Regions from separate parts of the Homo sapiens genome. Here region 2 is linked to region 1. The links are contacts of gene promoters, found by promoter capture Hi-C in blood cells and fetal thymus (Javierre and others, 2016). All regions are on one chromosome and are shown on one strand. The core of a region is centred on a gene start or on the middle of the fragment in contact, and the rest is flanking DNA. Distances in the headings are between cores, read along the strand shown.

Region 1 (3,941 bases), core at 1,362-3,861:
TCTAACACTTTAATCAGACATTTTCATTAAAGGCTCAGGATGCTCCATTTGCTGACCAATCCTACGTCTTCCTATAACAAGCACTCAACTGAGTTTTTCTCCACTTCTTGGCCTTATGGCAAGAAAAAAAACATTAAGCCAGGAACATAAGTTCTAAACTATATATGCTTTTGTTTCACCAGATTCAAAAATTCCTATTTTAGAGCACTTCATGGTCTTTTATTTTCTGAGATATAAGACAGAGATCTAGAAAACCTCAAAAAATTTTTGAACCTGTTTATTGAAAAACAAAGGTAGAGCATTTATTAGACTTTAATATTGAAATAAAAAACTGATCACTCACAATGATGGATGTATTTTTTCACATCAGTATTTTGTTAGAGAATACTAACTTATAATTGAGTGAGACATCAGTAATTATGGGTTGCTAACTAGCAGGCCACAGGCTAGATATGACCCAGATACAATTTTTAATGTGGTCCTTACAGTTTTTAAAATTAAGGATACCTCATAAAAAAAATCCAGAAGCTTCTGTTTTCCTTAAAAAACTGTCATGTTTTAGAGCCTGGACAGTAACAATCGGCTACAGTGGAGTGGGAGCTGCCTCCTTTACAGTGGTTTGCAAGTTCCAGAGGCCACAGTTCACACTCCACTCCCTACCCTCTCTCCCACGTGTCTTGTCTAGGCCTGCTCCACTCCTTTATCTCACTTGTCAGATCCCTGCACACATCTGAAACGCACACACAACTTTTTTTTAAAGGCAAGGAGACTGGATCCAGAAAGGGCTTCCCCATTCACTAGCTGTGACCTTCAGCAAGGTTTGAGTCTTGGGTTCCTCAGCTTTAAATGGAAGGTAATTTATTGGCCTCAAAGGGTTGTTGTGAGGATTAAAAAAGAAGTATATGAAAAGTGCTTTCTACACTGTAATGTAAAATGTTTGTCATCATTCATCTCCCAAAGCTCTGTGAATTGCATAAATCCCCTCTATCTACCTCTGTCATTATTTGGCTTACTTGCTCCTCACATTATTTATTACACTCTCTATGACAGAGTTTAAAATCTAAATTAGAAGAATTTGACTTATTTCCTTGGGTCATTTAACAAGAAGTAGAAAAGATGAACAAATATCCAAGGAAAACAAAATTAATTCTTGAATGCCAGTGGATCTTTACTGGGCCATTTGTTTGTGATGGAGGCATGAAATTCGTGCAAAGTGTAATTACTGGATTGCTGATGCCTTCAAGTACTGTGTTACAAGTTCACCCAATAGACACCCGAGACCTCAAAATAAAACAAAACTGACAGCCCAGGTATTAGGCTGACCTGTTCCATTGGCCTATCAGTGTTCCAGTAGAGGACCCAGTCCCATCAGAAAAAAAACAAAAAGCAAAAACCACTGCACTTTCATATAAGCTCTAGTAAGCCATGGCACACATTTTATATCTATCTCTATCTGTGTATAGAGATAGATCTAAAAATAATCAATAAGAGATTTTTTAAAAAACAGAATCTTCTCAGAAATGAGCAGAGGTGCAAAAAACTGCGCTTCAATACTGATGCAGGGGATATAAAAATGCTAGCAAAGATGTATGTCATGAATGCTACCTTCTTACGTTACGAATTCACAAACGTATTCCTGTTCTGGTCAATTTACAATAGAAGCTCATTCTTGTGTGGGGAAACACAATTAAATCATCTGCTTTTAATTTAAAATAATCACGACTAAGTGAACTGCAAAATAAAACTGGAAATAGAGGGGAAGAAGGGATCTAAACTGCAGTCATCTTTCTTTATAAGATCACCAAAATGGGAGTAAATTATGATTCAAGACACAATCCGTTGAAAAATTCATCTGACGAATCCTTTTTAAAGCATACCATATAGTGCAATTACGGCTTTTCTTGAAGTTGAATGAAACCGCCACCTGAATACAGATTAACAAATGCCAAATTACGAAAGGTCCTCAGTGTATATTTTATTTTAAATATCAAAATAAATAACGGCATCATTTAAGAAACCAGTTCTTTCAATAGATGTCCCACGGCTGATGTTTAAGCAAGTCTCCTTGGCAACCAAGGAGCACAGTACATATTGGGCTCAGGGGGAGGGAAGAAAGGGGGAGCGACTCCAGGGCTGGCAGCATAAGTAACCTGAGTAGTGGCTGCTCCCGTTAGACGACACGGGCAGAGGCTGCATGGGCTGCAAGCCCCTGAAATGTCAACTCCGGGTCTGCCCCCACTTGGCGCACCAGCAGCCTCCCACCCTCTTCCTCAGGTCTGCAGAACAGGTTACAAGGAGAGAGACTGGCTTACCCGATGGGGTGAGCGGTCTGCTGGGTTAGGTGCCAGAGACGGCAGCGCAGGCACCGGCCTCTCCTTGATGCACAATGGCTCTGCTTCGCCCCACGATGCTGAGGTTAACAGAACCCGCAGTAGCTTCGCTCTGCTGGTTCGGGGATGCAGTAGCGAAGACGAGCGTCCTAGCGTGTTTGTGTGTGCGAAAGTGTGTGTGTGTGTGTGTGTGTGTGTGTGTGTGTGCCTGCGTGCGTGTGTGCGCGCGACTGCCTGCGCGCTCCCGAACTGTCGCGCGGGGAAACTGCTCCCTAGTAAATAAAAAGCCCTAGCCAGCACTGCAGGTGGCACGTCCCGCTGACTCCGCCCCAGGCGGTCGCGTCAGACTGGAGACGCACCTTGGCACCCCCGGGGCGGGTTCAGACGCCACAGGGCTCCGCCCCCTCCCGCCTCCAGCTAGCCCGCGCGCTCCCTCCCCCTCCCCCGCGATCCCGCGCACATCCTTTCGCCACCCCGCGCGCAACGCCACCGCCCGCCGCCAGCGCGCTCGCTCCCCTGCCGCCCCCCGCCCCCGCCCCCGCCGTCGGCGAGCTGCCAGCGCGCGCCCGCCGGTCCCGGAAGTACCCTCCTCCACGCCGCCCTCCTCCTCGCTCTCCGGCACCTGCGTCGCCGGCCCCTGGGTCACATGCGCAGTCTGTAGCCACCACTGCGGCGACTGAGACCCGGGAACCCAGCCTGCTCGCCCCCAGACTCCTTTCCCAGGGCTGGCGGGCAATCTGAGCAAACAGACCCCGTGGCCCTAACTCGGTGTTCCAGGGAGTCCTTGCTCTGCTAACTTGTGAAGTTCAAGTTGCCTCTAGTCCTAGCGGCCCTACAGTGGCCCTCCTTAGGATAATACACTCTATGGTACTGACCAGAACAAATTCACAGTAACTTTAAGAAACGTCAGGGGAACCAACCCGCCAGAGGTGGACGAAATCCCCAAGCCTGAGAAATGAGAAAGGGTGTGATTACTGTGGTTACTACTAATTCAGCAATAAAACCGCAAACAGACAACAACCACAGAACCATACCATTAAATTCCAGGGCCTGGCACACTCAAGTGCCACTTCCGAGTCATTCAGGTCACTCCTGTGTAAAACATGCTGAGAAACTCACACTAAAGCAAAGTGGGTAATTTTAATAGGTAAGTATTCCACCACCGAATTGAAAACCTTAGTCCAACGTGGAGGTAAGACACCAGAAGCAGGAAGAGTGTAACTAAATTGGAGTAAACTGTATTTTGTAGAAGTTCAGGATTTAACTTACTGCAAAGATAGTATGTTAATCCTATTTCTTGCAGGTTTATGTTCTGCCACAGAGTTGGGCTAGGAACAGTGCCCTGATCTATTTTGAGGTGTCCTTAATGTTCTCATTGGTCTCAAATCAGTGGTTCAGCGATTATTTTCTACTTCTAGATCCACAGGATTTGGGGGTTTATTCGTTTGCTCCCTCTGGAGGTTATCTGTCTGGCTTGTAGTGCTTCATTTTCATGGTTTTGATATCTGGACGCTAGGATGCTGGGTACCTACTTATCTAGCAGTCCTGGACACAGCATAGGACAAGGGAAAGAATGACAAACAACTGACTACAAACATTAGGTGCAGTGTC
Region 2 (4,457 bases), core at 1,326-3,825, 47 kb after region 1:
GGTACATTACCTCTATTCTACTCTTTGTTAACAGCACTTAAAGTTTTCAAAATTATTTCTCCAGTTCTATCACTTACACATCTGGTTTTAACAATAATAATTAAAACACGAGTAAATATCTAACCATATTTAACCCTTCTTATTCTTTATGTCAGTTCAAATATTGTTTCTACTGACTTTGACTTCAAGCAGAATTAACTAATCCTATTGGTTTGGTCTCATAGAGAGACCTGAGATTCTAGAAAATGTACATGTTACCCCCAACCCCATACCTAACAGTTTTGAGTGAGAGGGATTTGAGTGGCCAGACGTCATATAGGGGCTTTCCTGAACTCTCTCCTTCCCAGCTGATTGTGATAGAATGTCTTTTTTTTTTTTTTTTTTTTTTGAGATGGTGTTTTGCTGTTGTTGCCCAGGCTGGAGTACAATGGTAGGGTCTTAGGTCACTGCAACCTCTGCCTCCCGTGTTCAAGCAATTCTCCTGGCTCTGCCTCCTGAGTAGCTGGGATTACAGGCTCCTGCCACCACACCCGAATAATTTTTGTACTTTTAGTAGAGACAGGGTTTTACCATGTTGGCCAGGCTGGTCGTGAACTCCTGACCTCAGGTGATCCACCTGCCTTGGCCTCCCAAAGTGCTGAGATTACAGGCGTAAGCCACTGTACCCAGTCTGATAGAATGTCTTTTTAAACAGACACCCTATCAGTCAGAACTTGGAGGCCATACAGTGCCCCTTCAAACAATTATGGGTATGAAAAATGAAAAATAGCCTCCCCCACACTCCCTGCTATATTAATTTAGGATTTGGAAGGAAGCTGGGAGGGGCTGGTCTAGATTTTGTTCTGGCCTACTTGAAACATCAAAGAATGAGACAAAGCAATTGGACACAACAGTATTAAAAACATCTTTGGTCAAAAGGTGAAGGTGGAGCAGCAAAAGTTTATCCTTTATCTTCTGACAATGGTCCTTCCTCATTGTCAGAGAGAGAAGGAAGGTAGGTTTCTTTTTGAAAAGGAAGACATAAAACGTTGTCAAGAATTTGAGGAAGGCAGTTTGAATTTTTCCTTGGATTTTCAAGAATCCTATTTGCATATATTAATACTTTTACTTATTCTAAAAATAAAAGAGGAAAATGATAGTTTTGAGGCTGGGTAAGCCAGGGATGAAGATACAGCTAAAAAGGTTTTAAAGTAATGCACATATCTGCAGCAGTCTTGATTTACTTTCACTGATATGTCAGAGAGGATGGAGAAAGGAGATTAAGCTATTTTCCTCCTCCAGGACTCAAACTCCTCTCTTTCCCAGCAATCTAATTTTCCTTTTTCAAAATTCCAACTTCGTGTTTATTTTTTTCAATGTAGTATACAATTTAGCCGATCATTTATCCTTCCTCATTCATCATGTTGTATACTTAGCTTAATAAACATCTTATTCTCAGAAGGATTCCAGAAGAAACTGAAGTCACAGAGGCTCATTTCCTTGCTTTACCTCAGAACAACACAGTAATATTACCTAGATATTTCTATTTTTACCCTATAATGAGGACACTCAATCTAAAATTGCACACAGCCCTGAGCTGCTACATTTTTGGTTCACTTTAACCTGAATAAGGGCTTCAGAGTTTGCTGAAATCAGATTCATGCCATGCTTGTTTCAAGGCAGTACATGGCTTGTTACTCTCAGAATTCAATGTTTATTTCTCATTGTAATGAAAAAGGCCCTCTGGCTGTCTAACCAGCTGTAATTTCTCACTAATCCTGAATAAACATTTCAAACCATAATGAGTCAGTGTTGAATTTTATGAAGAAAATGGAATTAAGAGTCAGAGTAATTTATAGCTGTACTGGCCACCCATTAAAGTTTTTCAACAAATGTGGGTGAAGCAAAAAGATGTAAGGCAAAAAGATGACTGTGGTTTTAAAAAATGTGGAATAACAGCTGAAAAAGATTGATGTTACCCTACTAGACTCCTCTGTGAAAGAAACAGGCAAAACTTCTGTCCTTGCTGGTATGAGACCTCCTACTCCACGGTAAGAAAACCTGCCATAAAGATGAGGTTGGATCCCCCAAAGTGGGCCTACATTTTAACCTAGGAGCTGACCCCGCAGGATCCACCACGGCCCACACCCTCCAACCCTCGAAGATGATGGGTTTTAGCCTGGAAGGAGAGCAACCCACAGAAGGTGATCCCTGTATCAAAGAGGCCTGGGCCCACATGCTCTCTAACCTGCACTTCCTTTGAGACACAGATAATGGTACCTTGGTGAGTGAAACCAGAGCATCAGTAAATTAAGAGCTCTCCTAGGTGTTTTGAAAGATCCTTCTCTGTATCCAATCTTTAATGCCCAGGCATTTGCTTGGGTATTGTCTTCCTGAGTCTCATGAAGTTCCCTTTTTACCCCGTGAAATAACAGGATACATTTTTAAAAAATAATTAAATGACCATTCAACATTTGAGCCAAAAGGAGTCAAATAAAAAACTTAAGCTTTTGAACTTTCCACACTTTCAAAGCTCTAGCCTTGGGACCAGAAAATGGCTTTCTTTGTTTGAAATTGTACATTTGGCTTATTAGTAGAATTTTGAGAAAGATCAGGGAGCCTCAGTATGCTCAATGATGGCACAGGAAGTTGGGCTTCCACAAGAAAGGGGAAAAGAGAAGCTTGAAAATTCAGTTAGTAAGCATGGGTTCTGAAGTGCATGAAGTTTTTGCAAAACCTGAATGCAAAAGCATTCAGCATTACTCCTTGGAGCGGGCACGGTGCCACACATCTTCTGAGTTGCCAGTTTCTCTGGAGCTTCCGTGCTCTCTTAGAGGAGAGAAAATTATGCTTAATTTTATATTCACTGGTTGGATTTCTTAAACCACTTTAAATATCAGAGCAGCATTCTTAACATAAACAGAAATGTTGTTCGGAACTGATTATTTAAATGAGTTTTTCACTTTCACAGGCTGGAACTCTTTCAGGAGATTTTGTTTCCAAAAGAACTTTAGAAAATACTAGCATAGATGTTTCATTAAACTAAGATGTGATAAAGGCCGGAATCCTTCTAAAATTACCGATTATAAATCTTCAGAAAAACGGATGGCTTATACATATCGAATCTGTGCTTGAAAACATCATATTGCCAGAAGGCTGCGACTCAAATTCAGAGTAGAAAAAGAGATGCAAAATGTCTATCAGGAATGTTTAAAAATAATCAGGCTTTTTGGCAGAAAAGTAAAACTGGTCACTGAATTTTGGCTTCTCTAGTATACAACAATACCAACCTTAGATGCTGAAAAAAGACTCTTACAGAATGAATGGTTCCTAGCTAAAGAGAAATTCGATTGTTTTAAAATATACTGACATTTACATAATCTGTTTTGCTTAAAATGGCAGTGCCTTGTTTTAAAATAATGATGTTAGGCTCTTGAAAATGATTTGAATCTTGTATCTGAGGACACTATGATCATAAAATCTGACTCAATGAGGGAAGAAACATGTATCCTCATAGGCCCTACAGAGGAAAGCACCAGACTGACTCAAGTTTTTGCCTTATTTTTTCTCTTAACATTTTATAATGCAAGGGCATGTGTTTCAGGACACTTTTCAGCATCCCACTCCATGTATCTCTTTTTGGAAATTACAGCTGCCCCAGGGAGTGCTATTGTGGGTACCCCTGGAGGGAAGAAGGATTTTATGCAGCGTAAAAAAAGGAAAAACTCTATGTATATGTTTTTGATCTTGGTGTTTCCCTCTTTGACAGTAGATTGGTCTTTTATATTTCTGTATTTCATTAATATAGAACACAGAGAAATTGATCAGTAAATGATATTTATTTATTTATTTGAGTTGGAGTCTTGCTGTGTCACCCAGGCTGGAGTGCAGTGGTGCCATCTCAACTCACTGCAACCTCCGCCTCCTGGATTCAAGCGATTCTCCTGCCTCATCCTCCTGAGTAGCTGGGATTACAGGAGCCCGCCACCACACCCAGCTAATTTTTGTACTTTTTAGTAGAGATGGGGTTTCACCATATTGGCCAGGTTGGTCTCGAACCCCTGACCTTGTGATCTGCCTGCCTTGACCTCCCAAAGTGCTGGGATTACAGGCGTGAGCCACGGCGCCCGGCTCAGTAAATGATTTTTGAATGAATAAATGAACACTTCAGACCATAACAGATCCACATAGACAGAATCCAGCCTGTATCATACTACAATTAATATAACACATTTTAAATAATAAATTGAAGGTGTTCCATTAAAAATGAAAAAGTTCAAAGCACATGTAAGCTAAGAATTGTTTTTCTCTCATGTGTCTTTACAGTGTCACTGCCACTTAGTAGACGTTACTCTTTCTGGAGCAGTACTGGGGGAACCAAATTGTGCAAGACTTGATAAGCCATGCTGAAGAGTTTACAATTGATGCATTAGGCCCCAGGAAGCTCCCGAGCCATTCTGAACATCAAAAATAATTGA

Evidence for each region. The method cuts DNA at HindIII sites, captures the fragments that hold promoters and counts their contacts. A CHiCAGO score of 5 or more calls a contact.
Region 2: a fragment that was not itself captured here is called in contact with the fragment with the promoter of KLHL32 in region 1 in 1 of 17 cell types (fetal thymus); the score reaches 6.4 in fetal thymus.

What each region holds. Positions count from the first base shown.
Region 1 is chr6:96,923,398-96,927,338 of GRCh38, reverse strand. KLHL32 (kelch like family member 32) reads right to left here and starts at 2,611. Exons shown (of 11, transcript NM_052904.4): 1 at 2,313-2,611. RefSeq lists a silencer at 2,575-2,884. The HindIII fragment of the contact is 7,655 bases long and covers 531-3,941 here.
Region 2 is chr6:96,875,649-96,880,105 of GRCh38, reverse strand. No RefSeq gene overlaps it. Among named protein-coding and RNA genes, the nearest start is that of NDUFAF4, 20 kb to the left of the region's middle. The HindIII fragment of the contact is 174 bases long and covers 2,489-2,662 here.